Linked DNA regions of Homo sapiens: all the other regions are linked to region 3. The links are contacts of gene promoters, found by promoter capture Hi-C in blood cells and fetal thymus (Javierre and others, 2016). All regions are on one chromosome and are shown on one strand. Each heading gives the region's core, a stretch centred on a gene start or on the middle of the fragment in contact. The rest is flanking DNA. Distances are from core to core; before and after follow the strand shown.

Region 1 (3,318 bases), core at 356-2,855, 1.0 Mb after region 3:
TGGGAGAAATGAATAGTAGCTGAGGTAGAGGATAAGAATGAAGGTGGAAGGGGAAACCCTCCATGGGCTCACTGTGTCTTTCAGAATGAAAGCTAAAATCCTGATGTTGGCCTCTAAGGCCCTCCCTGACCGGGCCATTACCTCACTGACCTCATCGCCTGCCACTTTTGCTGCCTCTGATATCCAACTACCTGGCCCCCCTGCTCTTTTTCCAATACTCAAGCACACTTCCACCTCAGGTCCTGGAATGTCCTTCCCTGAGACACTCACCATTCACTCCCTCTCTTTCTTCGAATCTCTGCTCAGGTATCCCCTCTTTGGGCAAGGCCCTTCTGACCACCCAGAATTCCCTAACCTCCAACCCTGCTTTATTTTCCTCCATAGGAAAGGAATTTTGTCTTACTTAATTTAACCTTAGGGCAATATTGTCTTAGTCTAGAAATTCAGCTCATGGATACAAAAATCCTCTAGGAGCCGTAACTTCCTGTCAATCCTAAAATTTAATAAGGCAAATGTTTGGCTTCGAGCCATACTGGGAATAAGGTAAGGCCTTTTGAAAAAGCCACGATGCCCAGGTGAGGGTTGAATTGATCACTGAGAACCCTACAAATGCGCTCATGGCAAGGCTGGGAATACCCTACACTTACCCTCTCGGTCATTTACTTCAGAGTCTGCGGGGCATTCTAATCCGCGTTGTCATTTGCTTTGTGCCACATTCCTAAGAGGTAGGCAGGGCAGGTTTTATCATCCTCTGTTTACAGATGAAGATAATGAAGGTCACATAGCTCAAGTGAGCTACCCAGGGCCACAGACATACAAAGTGGTAGAACCAGAATTTAAATCTTGGTTGGTCTGACTCCAAGTGTAGTATTTGTTTCACTTTTTCTTTCTTTCTTTCTTTCTTTTTTTTTTTTAACTGTTTCTGCATTCTGGGTTCTGACCAGGTGACCTTGAATCATAAAGATTCAGGGCCTGTCTTGAGCTGCTCAATATGGAAGGCATCTTTTCTCTAAAGAGTGTGAGCTCCCTGCCAAGCAGCACAGGCGCTTAATAGGCTTTCAGAGCAGCAATTCTAGAACCTCCCTTGTGGCTTTCTGATCTCCCACAGCCCTTGTGTTTGATGGTCAGGAAAGGAGAATACCCTTGGATCGTCTTATCTCCAGACCACCCCGAGGCTGGCTGGACTTAAGGGGTGAGGAAAGACAAGATGGGTGAGCAGCTGCTTTCGGCTGAAAACCAGAAAGAAATCCCAGTGTTTTTGCTTTATTTTGGTTTAAAAATCAAGTCGTATGACAATGGAAACATTTTCCTGGTTGTCCTCTCCTCTCTGCCCATGTTGACAGAAGACGGACTTGCTAATTCTGGCTGGGGTTTTTCCCTGCCTGGGCTGTTTTTCTCTTTTATCTTCATCAATTGAAGAGGGCTGCTGTGTCTTTCAAACTGTCGGAAGGTATCTGTATTTTTTTTTCTTTCACATAATTCTGTAGGTCTTTTCCCAGATATGTATTTTTCTCTCTAACTTCTAACTCGCTGAAGTTTCCGCCCATGTGACTTCCAGCGTGAGTTACCAGAAACCACAAGAGAGAGAGAGAGCGTGCAAGCCCCAAAGCGAGCGACATGTCCCTTTGGGGAGCAGTCCCTCTGCACCCCAGAGTGAGGAGGACGCAGGGGTCAGAGGTGGCTACAGGGCAGGCAGAGGAGGCACCTGTAGGGGGTGGTGGGCTGGTGGCCCAGGAGAAGTCAGGAAGGGAGCCCAGCTGGTGACAAGAGAGCCCAGAGGTGCCTGGGGCTGAGTGTGAGAGCCCGGAAGATTTCAGCCATGCCTCACAGCTCCGACAGCAGTGACTCCAGCTTCAGCCGCTCTCCTCCCCCTGGCAAACAGGTAGAGTCCTCCTTTTTCTCTCTCCTACCTTCTGATTCTCCTGGGGGATGGAAAGAGAGCCAGGCTTCCTTGTCCTGCCCAGGGAGCTGAGGATGGAGGAAGTGGCTCGTTGCACGGGCACTCTGTTAGACTTAGGACATGGAATTTGCTACTAAGCTGTGCATATTGGCAGAGATCCTCATCCTTCCACCCATTCTGCCAAAGCCCCTTTTTCTCTCCATTTTCCAAGGCTGCCTATCACCTCTGCCTCACTGGGGTTGCCACCCTAAAAAGCTTTCTAGGAAGCAAAGAGGAGGATGAACATCAAAGAATGCAGAGAAAAGAGTCTACTGTTCTCCAAGGCTGTAGAAAAGTGAGAGGAGTTTTCAAGTGGGCCGCTGGCATGCACAGCTCAAATCCTAGATATGCAGTTTCCCAGGAGACAGCCAATAGGGAAGGGGAGAAAAGGGGTTAGGGAAAAGTTAAAAAAAAAAAAAAAGAAGAAGAAGAAGAGGAAGAAGGAGGAGGAGGAGGAGAAACCCAGGCTAGCATAGAAGGATCTCTCTACTGGGGCACTGCCTCTGTTGCTAGCACAGCCAGCAAGGGGAGATGCTAGAGGTCCAGCCAATATCTCTTTGCTTGTGGCTTCTGGATAGGAGCAAGGAAATGAATGAGGAGGTGGCTCTGGAAATTTGTTGGAAGACATTTGCTGGTAGTTCATCTTAGCTCTGGGGAAACCAGAGAGACTGAGATAGGGATTGTGGGAGCATTTGGAGTCTAGATTGTGACTTCCAAGTCCAAAGGTTTTAGCTTGAGGATTACCAAAAAAGGAGTGCCCTGCCCATCTCACAGCTTCTAGGGTTTTGTTCTGCACCACACTCTTGACATCCCTTGCTGTAGGAAGCCCTCCTCTTTCTCATCCGACATGTATCCGTGGGTTAAAATTTTCTCAACCTTCATAGTTTAAAAACTTCATTCTTTCCTTAGCACAGATATCCACAAGGGTTTTCAAAATGCTGCAGCCAAAATAAAAGTATATAAATATTGAACAGGGCGTATATCCTAAGCCTCTAATAACGGAGCAGCAGGCTGGGATGAGTCTGGGTGGAGACCTCTAGAAGGCACAGAATCCAGTCTGCTGCTCAAGATGGTGTCAGAGTGGCTCTGACTGCCTGGAAGTTTGTACTTTTCTTAGGAAGGAAATTACTCATGGCTTCCATGGTAACCTGGTGCCCCATCCCCCTTAGAGGAAGAGCACTTCCTTCCTATCTATGCCAATGACCTCCTACCACAAAGGCCTGAAAGTATTGGACATGTTGGTGAGCCCAGTACTTAGTGATCCCAGAGCTTTGCCCTTGGATCTGTGCCCCTCTAGCCTGTGGGAGACGTGGAAGGGAACAGGGCATGAGTTGCCAGGACTCCTACACCTACACTGCAGCATCTGGGAGAGAACTGGA
Region 2 (3,532 bases), core at 1,033-3,532, 1.6 Mb before region 3:
CAAATTCTGGAGATGAAATGAAAAAATAATTTTTACTTTTGAAGGTAATATACACCATCTAGATACCATGCTACCTTTATAATCGCGGGTGCTTAACCAATGGGCGCTGTGCACCAAGTCCTGGGTGAGGTACTCCATCATCAGCGCTTACTCCTTACAACCTTTCTCAGTAGATGTCTTATCCTCATTCTAATCTGTGAAGAAACTGAGGTTGGAATGCCTCATGACTTGCCCAAGGCCCAGCAAGCTTCATTTGTTCACTGATTTGCAAACATTCTTTAATCTTTCATCTGTGTGTGTTGCAGGTCCCCGAGGTATATCTCATGCCCACGTCACTGTCCCCTCTGTGGACATTCAACAGAGCCTGCTGGCCGGCTGCCAGCCACTCATTGACTCAGCAAGCCCAAGCCAACTCCTCCTGCCACCTTCCTCAAGTGTCCCCTGGCTCTTCAGTGGAAAATCCAGCTTGACTCCTCCCCGAGAGTTAAGTCTGGCCGATTCTCCCTCTGAATTCTGCCTCCCATCTGTACCCCCCTTCCATCCTGGCTACCCCCACCCTGGTTTGGCCCTCACTACCTTTCACAAGGACTGTTGCTGCAATAAGTTCCTTAGGGGTCTCCCAGCTGACTTCCACAATCTTTTCTCCCCAACCCCCTACACGGTGATTTCCCAGAAGCACAGCTCTAGTCCTGTCACTTCCCAACTCTAGAACCCTCAGAGCCTCCCATTGTCTACTTTTTTTTTTCTTGAGACAGGGTCTCACTCTGTCACCCAGGCTGGAGTGCAATGGCGCTATCTCGGCTCACTGCAACCCCCGCCTCCCGGGTTCAAGCAATTCTCCTGCCTCAGCCTCCTGAGTAGCTGGGATTACAGGCGCCCGCCACCACGCCCGGCTAATTTTTTGTATTTTTAGTAGAGTTGGGGGTTTCGCCATGTTGGCCAGGCTGGTCTGGAACTCCTAGCCTCAAGTGATCCACCCGCCTCAACCTCCCAATGTGCTGGGATTTCAGGCGTGAGCCACTGCACCCGGCCTGACTACTCTTTCCCTGGCAATTGCTGCGTCACCAAGCCCCAACCCACCCTGCTGAGTTTTCCTTCCAAGACTCCCCTCCCATCCAGCCGGCTTGAACCGGCCTCCAGTCACGTTGTTTGTTCAGCTAGAATTTTTCTCTGCCTTCTCTTCAAGGCCGCTCAAGCTTCATGAAGCGGTTCTTTATTCTGACTATGCCCACTTCTCTCATTTCCCTCATCACCCGGCCCCGCTCCACATACTGCATTTATCTATAAACTCCTGAGAGCCAGGAGTTTAGCCTGAAATCCTAGCTTCCTGGTTAAGAGCTGAAATGCCTTCGCACGGCGTGCAATGGGTGAACCCCACCGCCTGCTTTCTAACGGGTCCAAGCCGCGGGCAGGGGCCTGTGTTACGGAGCCGCATGACACACCAGGCCTACTGCTGGACCCCAACAAGCCTAGCCTCTGTGAATCCAGCTGTCCTCACAAACTGTCTCTTCGGGACACAAGCCCATCAGAGGCTTCCGTTTTCCTTTCATAAGATCTCATAACCGTCAGCTGATACCTGGGACAGGCACAGCACACATAGGTCATTCTAGAAATATTGGTGGTCTGAACAAACTCTAAGCTGGAGAGGACATGAGAATGATAGATCCGATTCCTTCTCTCAACAGAAGAAATCAAGGCACAGAGAAGGGAAGAGACTCGCCCTAGGTCCCACAGCAAGCAGCAGTACTGGAGCCAACACGGAGGCCCCCCGGTTTCACGGTCAGGGCTCGCTACGCTACACCCTGAACGCAGACCCAGGGCAGCGGCCTCGGCCGCCTGAGGCCACTGCCGAAGACTTCGCCGCCAGTCGTAACATCACGTTACTTCTGTCCCTCGCCTCACAGACTCCTTCGCTCTTTCCACTACAGCGAGAGGACTTCTCCAGGGCCGCATCACCCTGCGGAGGGAGGAAGACACGGTCTCTCACGAAAGGGTCTCCAGACAGTTCCGCTGCTCCGGGAGCAGCCCCCGGCCCCGCCCCCGCGTGCGCCTGGCCCCACCCCCAAGCGCTCCATGACCAGCCTCCACGTGCATCCGCCCCAGACAGGCCAGGCCTGGGAGGAGCCGAAGCCCCACTCCCCGCCTTCTTCATGAGATCGTCCCTATTGACGTCGACAGACAGAAGCCGCGTCCAGTGAGAAGGAAAGAACGGCCGCTATAGCCCTATCGGCTGCTACAACACCAAAACGCATCCACCTAACTGGCTGACGCTACACCTTGGTCTTTCCGGGTCCTTGCACGCTTCGCTCCAACTCCTGCAGAGCTGAGCCGGAGGGGAATCCGGAAGGGACACGCTGAACAGGTAAGACTGTGCTGCCTGGGGTGCCTACTGGCATCGATTCGAGGGCTGCCGCGCTCCCGCTGCAGAGCTCGGGGTGGGAGACAGGCGCGGCGAGGAAGGCCAGGGAAAGGGGCGGGGAGGGGCGGGGAGGAGTGAGCACGTGGAACGCCGGCGCCACCGGGCCTAGGTGGCAGCTGGGCCGGCGCGCTCCGCCCGTTCTGGGGCGCGTGGGGCCCTCCGGCCGGATCAGTGCTGCAACCGTAAACACGCAGGGAGGGCACCCCGAGTGTCGCCGCTGAGGGCGTTTCTCTAAGCGCTTCTCTGAGACCTGCTGCTGAAGGCCCCACCCGACACCTGGCGGGGGCTGGGCTGCGGGCCTTGGGGCGGTGTCCCCTGTGAATGTTCAGGTCAGCATAACAGGTTAGGTGTGGTTGAAGCTTACGAAGTGGCCGGCTCTGTGCTGCCGGCTTCACAGGCGCTAACATTTGCCAGCGCTATGATGTCCTTGTCAGACGCAGAAAGGGGTGCAGTTTGGTTGTCCGTCGGGGTAGCGCACAACTAGCAAGTGATGGGGCCTGGGTTTGGCCCTCGCCTCCACTCTGAGTTGTGAGTTAGCGAGAAAGCCACGCCTCGTGGGCTCCCCGGGGGCTTCAGAAACCATGACGCCTTTCACCATGGTGTTCTACAGGCATTGTCTTGTGACTCCAGCAGCGCAGCCAGAAGCAAAGAAAACTGAGGGGACGGCTTCCTAGAGGAAACAATTCCAAAGTCCCAAACTCTGATTTTAAATAACGATGGAAATTAGAGTCGCGGTGGTGTTCTTTTTTTTTTTTTTTTTTTTTTTTTTTTGAGGCGGAGTCTCGCTGTCGCCCAGGCTGGAGTGCAGTGGCACGATCTCGACTCACTGCAGCCTCCGCCCCCGGGGTTCACGCCATTCTCCTGCCTCAGCTTCCCGCGTAGCTGGGGCTACAGGCGACCACCACCTCGCCCGGCTAATTTTTTGTATTTTTAGTAGAGACGGGGTTTCACCGTGTTAGCCAGGATGGTCTCGATCTCCTGACCTCGTGATCCGCCCGCCTCGGCCTCCCAAAGTGCTGGGATTACAGGCGTGAGCCACCGCGCCCGGCCTGAGGTGGTGTTCTGTGGGTAACCAGGCCTGGGGGTCCTACCAACAGAGGTGGAATCCCTGTT
Region 3 (3,468 bases), core at 831-3,330:
ACCATGCCCAGCTAATTTTTGTATTTTTAGTAGAGATGGGGTTTCACCATGTTGGCCAGGATGGTCTCAATCTCTTGACCTCGTGATCTGCCCGTCTTGGCCTCCCAAAGTGCTGGGATTACAGGTGTGAGCCACTGTGCCTGGCCGGAATGAGTTATTAAAATTAATAGTGTCTTCATCCAAACGCTGGCTACTAAGTTTAATGGAGGGAAAGGCAGTAATTTGAAGCGATAATAGCTTTCAAGTGCCAGTCTCCTAAATCAATGGAATAGCATTTAAGTGTTAATCGGCCAGCACTCCATTCCTTAATCAATCCTGTCCCCTAATCCCCAACTTTGCTTTTGTCTCAACATGAATTTTTATGACATAGGGGAAAAAGATTTCCATCTATGTTTTCAACACATTTCATTGAGCAGTTACTATTACCTGGGCACTGGATATAAAGCAGCAAACTTATGAAACCGCCTTTGCAAAAATCCTGAGGAAATTAAGACAGTGAAAGAGATCAGGACTCACCTACCCATCTTCCTTCTAACCTCTAAACTGTCTTTGTTCATTCCTGGGTGTAGGCTGAACTAGTCTTGGAGAGGAATTTATAGTTTAAACTCTGAAACGAAATGGATAATAGCCCTTTCCTGAAAAACCCCTTCTTGCCTGGGGACCGGTCTGCCTTTGTAGGACTAACAAATTAGCTACGAGTTTAGGGGCCACGCCGCCTCTGGCTGTAAGAGTCTGAACCTCCCCAAATTGCTCCTGGTAATGATATCACTATTGTAAAACCTAAGGTCAGTGCTTGAGATATTTTGCAGATCCTGCATTCCGATGCAGCAAATGACACCACCCAGAGGTCAGCAAGAAGAACTCACTTCGACTCTCCTATGATTTTATCTTCAACCTGACCAATCAGCACTCCCCACTTTCCAAGCCCATACCCGCCAAATTATCCTTAAAAACTCTGATCCCCGAATGCTCGGGGAGACTGATCTGAGTAACAATAAAACTCCGGCCTCCCCCACAGCCGGCTCTGCGTGAATTACTCTTTTCGCCACTGCAAATCCCATCTTGATAAATCCGCTCTGTCTAGGCAATGCGCAAGGTGAACCCCTTGGGCGGTTACACTTACTCTGGCTCCCCATTCTGCTGCGTGACTTTAGGTAGGCTACCCAACATCCCTGGAATTCAATGATTGATTATACGATCTCCGTGCTTCCTTTCCACTCATAGATCTTACAAAGTCAGTTTCATGCCTCTTTCATTGACAGTTCTATCTCTCTATCTCCACCTCTGAACAACATTGCTCGAGTTTCTGTTCCGACAATTCTATAGACTCGACTCAATGAAGGCACTCAGAATTTCTACCACCTGTTGTATTTTCCAACAAAGATTCCAACCACAGCGGCGAGAGGGAGTTATGTATCACAAGCTGTGATTAGAGACACAATGAGATTTATACAAGGAAAAACTGATTAAGAATCACAAGATTCCAAAGCCCAAAGGAAGTCCTATTTGTAACAATAAATGATGAAAAAGGGGAATTGACTTTTGACTTGTCAGCAAAAACGAAATTAAAAGAAAAGCAAAAGGAGTTGGAAGGGGGAGGCGGGATTCCAAGATACAAAGCATAAATAAAAAGAAGTTCTGTGCTCCACCCCTCCACCAGAGCTGGATACAGCCCTTCTGTTGTCCGCCCTACAAACTTTAGGAAACTTCAGCAAAAGGCCCACCTCCTGGAGTTCCCAGGAACCCCAAAACACGCGTTCTAAGGAAAGAAACAAAGTTGTGCGCGGTCGGGTTTCATGGAGGCCGGCGCCTTCTCCCCCGACCCAGCCCATTCCAGTTAGGTAGGGTCCAAGGCTCAGCCTGGCCGCCCGAGGGATCCGCCCAGCCCAGCCCCAGGGGTCTCAGCGCGGGGGTCCGGCGGGGCCTTCCACAGAGGGCGCGGGAACCTTGGGCGGGCCTGGGGCTCACCGCAGTCCTTGAACTGCACCGGTTCGGCCTGGGCAGCGGTGCTGAGCGCCAGGAGCAGGAATGTAGCTGCCAGGAAACGCATCGCGGATAACGAAGTTCCAAGCTCGGGAAAGAAGCAGCGGCCGCCCGCGGTCACAAGACAAACCTGTCGGGGCGGGCCCGGGGAGGAGCCCAGTCAGGCGACCTGTCACCAGTAACCACAGCTGAGGCCCGCCCGCGCCCCGCCCCCGGCTCCGGAAAGCCAGCTCCAGCCCTCTCAGGCCCAGAAGCCTGCAGTCTCCGCCCATGCCATCCCCTCAGAGGCCTGACCCGCCCGGACCCACCTCCGCCCCGCCCCGCCTCACTCCTCCCCGCCCCGTTCCTTCCCTTTAGAGCACCTCTCCGGCTTCCTGGGTGCGTCCCCGCCGCTGCCGTCTGGAGCATTCCTAGCCAATCAGACACCTTCTCCTCCCGCACTACCCAATAGGCATGTTGGGGGGGCGGGGCCTCCGTGAAGTCCCGGCCTCCTGTTCGTTCTCTCCGCCTCCCGAGGCCCCGGGTGAGAAACGGGGGAGACGCGAGGGGCGGAGCTTGTGGAGGAAGATGGCTGCCGCCTGGGGGTCGTCCCTAACGGCCGCGACGCAGAGAGCGGTCACTCCCTGGCCGAGGGGCAGGTACCAAGACTAGAAAGGCACCTGGAAAGGGTGTTTGGTTCTGCGCCTCTAGGACAAATGGGAAACTAAGGCCTGTGGGGGATGCGAGGGTTTGGTGGGAGGCCGTCCAGGTGGGGGTCGCCAGGTTTAGCGTGAGGCGCTCCAGGTCGAGGGTTGCAAGGTGCCCCTTCTGCTCCCGGGCTCACCCTCCTCCCTTGCGCGCAGGCTCCTCACGGCCTCCCTGGGACCCCAGGCGCGTCGGGAGGCGTCGTCCTCCAGCCCCGAGGCCGGCGAAGGGCAGATCCGCCTCACAGACAGTTGCGTCCAGGTAGGAGGCCGGACGCGGAGCGGCGGTACCCAGGCGATTGGCGGGAGCAGCGGGAACTGCTCTTCACTCAGCCCTTTAACTCCCGTTTCCCGCTATTCTTGATCCCCCTTCCTGCATTTCAGAGGCTTTTGGAAATCACCGAAGGGTCAGAATTCCTCAGGCTGCAAGTGGAGGGAGGTGGATGCTCCGGATTCCAATACAAATTTTCACTGGATACAGTTATCAACCCCGACGACAGGCAAGGAGGAAGGGGTGGGCCCCCAAAGGAGGTACAGGAGGGACAAAAGTGTCTCCAGTTTAAGGTGCACTTTTATTCCAAATTTAAAGGGTTTACCTGGGATGGTTAACACCGCCCGTCTCACAGTGAGGATGCAGTAAAGGTTTGTTGTTCTGAATCAAAGTAACTAAGTTATAGGAGCAAAATTGATCTGCCCAGGTCCATTGGGTAGTCGGTAGAAAGTCAGGCCGGACTAGATTCCAGGCTTAAGTCCCTACACGTTTCCCAGTATTTATTCCATTGAATCATTTTGCCTCAAAGAA

What was found. Contacts are between HindIII fragments. The CHiCAGO score rates a contact against its expected background, and 5 or more counts as called.
Region 1: the fragment with the promoter of BATF here is called in contact with the fragment with the promoter of NPC2 in region 3 in 1 of 17 cell types (total CD8 T cells); the score reaches 5.4 in total CD8 T cells.
Region 2: a contact is called between the fragment with the promoter of DCAF4 here and the fragment with the promoter of NPC2 in region 3, in 1 of 17 cell types (non-activated CD4 T cells). The highest score is 7.3, in non-activated CD4 T cells.

Annotation. Positions count from the first base shown.
Region 1 is chr14:75,520,864-75,524,181 of GRCh38, forward strand. BATF (basic leucine zipper ATF-like transcription factor) reads left to right here and starts at 1,606. Exons shown (of 3, transcript NM_006399.5): 1 at 1,606-1,882. The coding sequence starts at 1,820. RefSeq lists an enhancer at 1,574-1,903. The HindIII fragment of the contact is 2,331 bases long and covers 1-2,153 here.
Region 2 is chr14:72,924,182-72,927,713 of GRCh38, forward strand. It overlaps DCAF4 (DDB1 and CUL4 associated factor 4), which reads left to right and starts at 2,283. Exons shown (of 14, transcript NM_015604.4): 1 at 2,283-2,362. RefSeq lists enhancers at 395-1,261, 1,662-1,761, 2,052-2,321, 2,993-3,532 and a silencer at 2,492-2,551. The HindIII fragment of the contact is 1,582 bases long and covers 1,195-2,776 here.
Region 3 is chr14:74,491,225-74,494,692 of GRCh38, forward strand. It overlaps NPC2 (NPC intracellular cholesterol transporter 2), which reads right to left and starts at 2,081. Exons shown (of 5, transcript NM_006432.5): 1 at 1,969-2,081. The coding sequence starts at 2,050. ISCA2 (iron-sulfur cluster assembly 2) reads left to right here and starts at 2,541. Exons shown (of 4, transcript NM_194279.4): 1 at 2,541-2,621; 2 at 2,826-2,928; 3 at 3,051-3,166. The coding sequence starts at 2,551. RefSeq lists silencers at 1,834-1,893, 2,064-2,343 and an enhancer at 2,544-2,623. The HindIII fragment of the contact is 4,485 bases long and covers 1-3,468 here.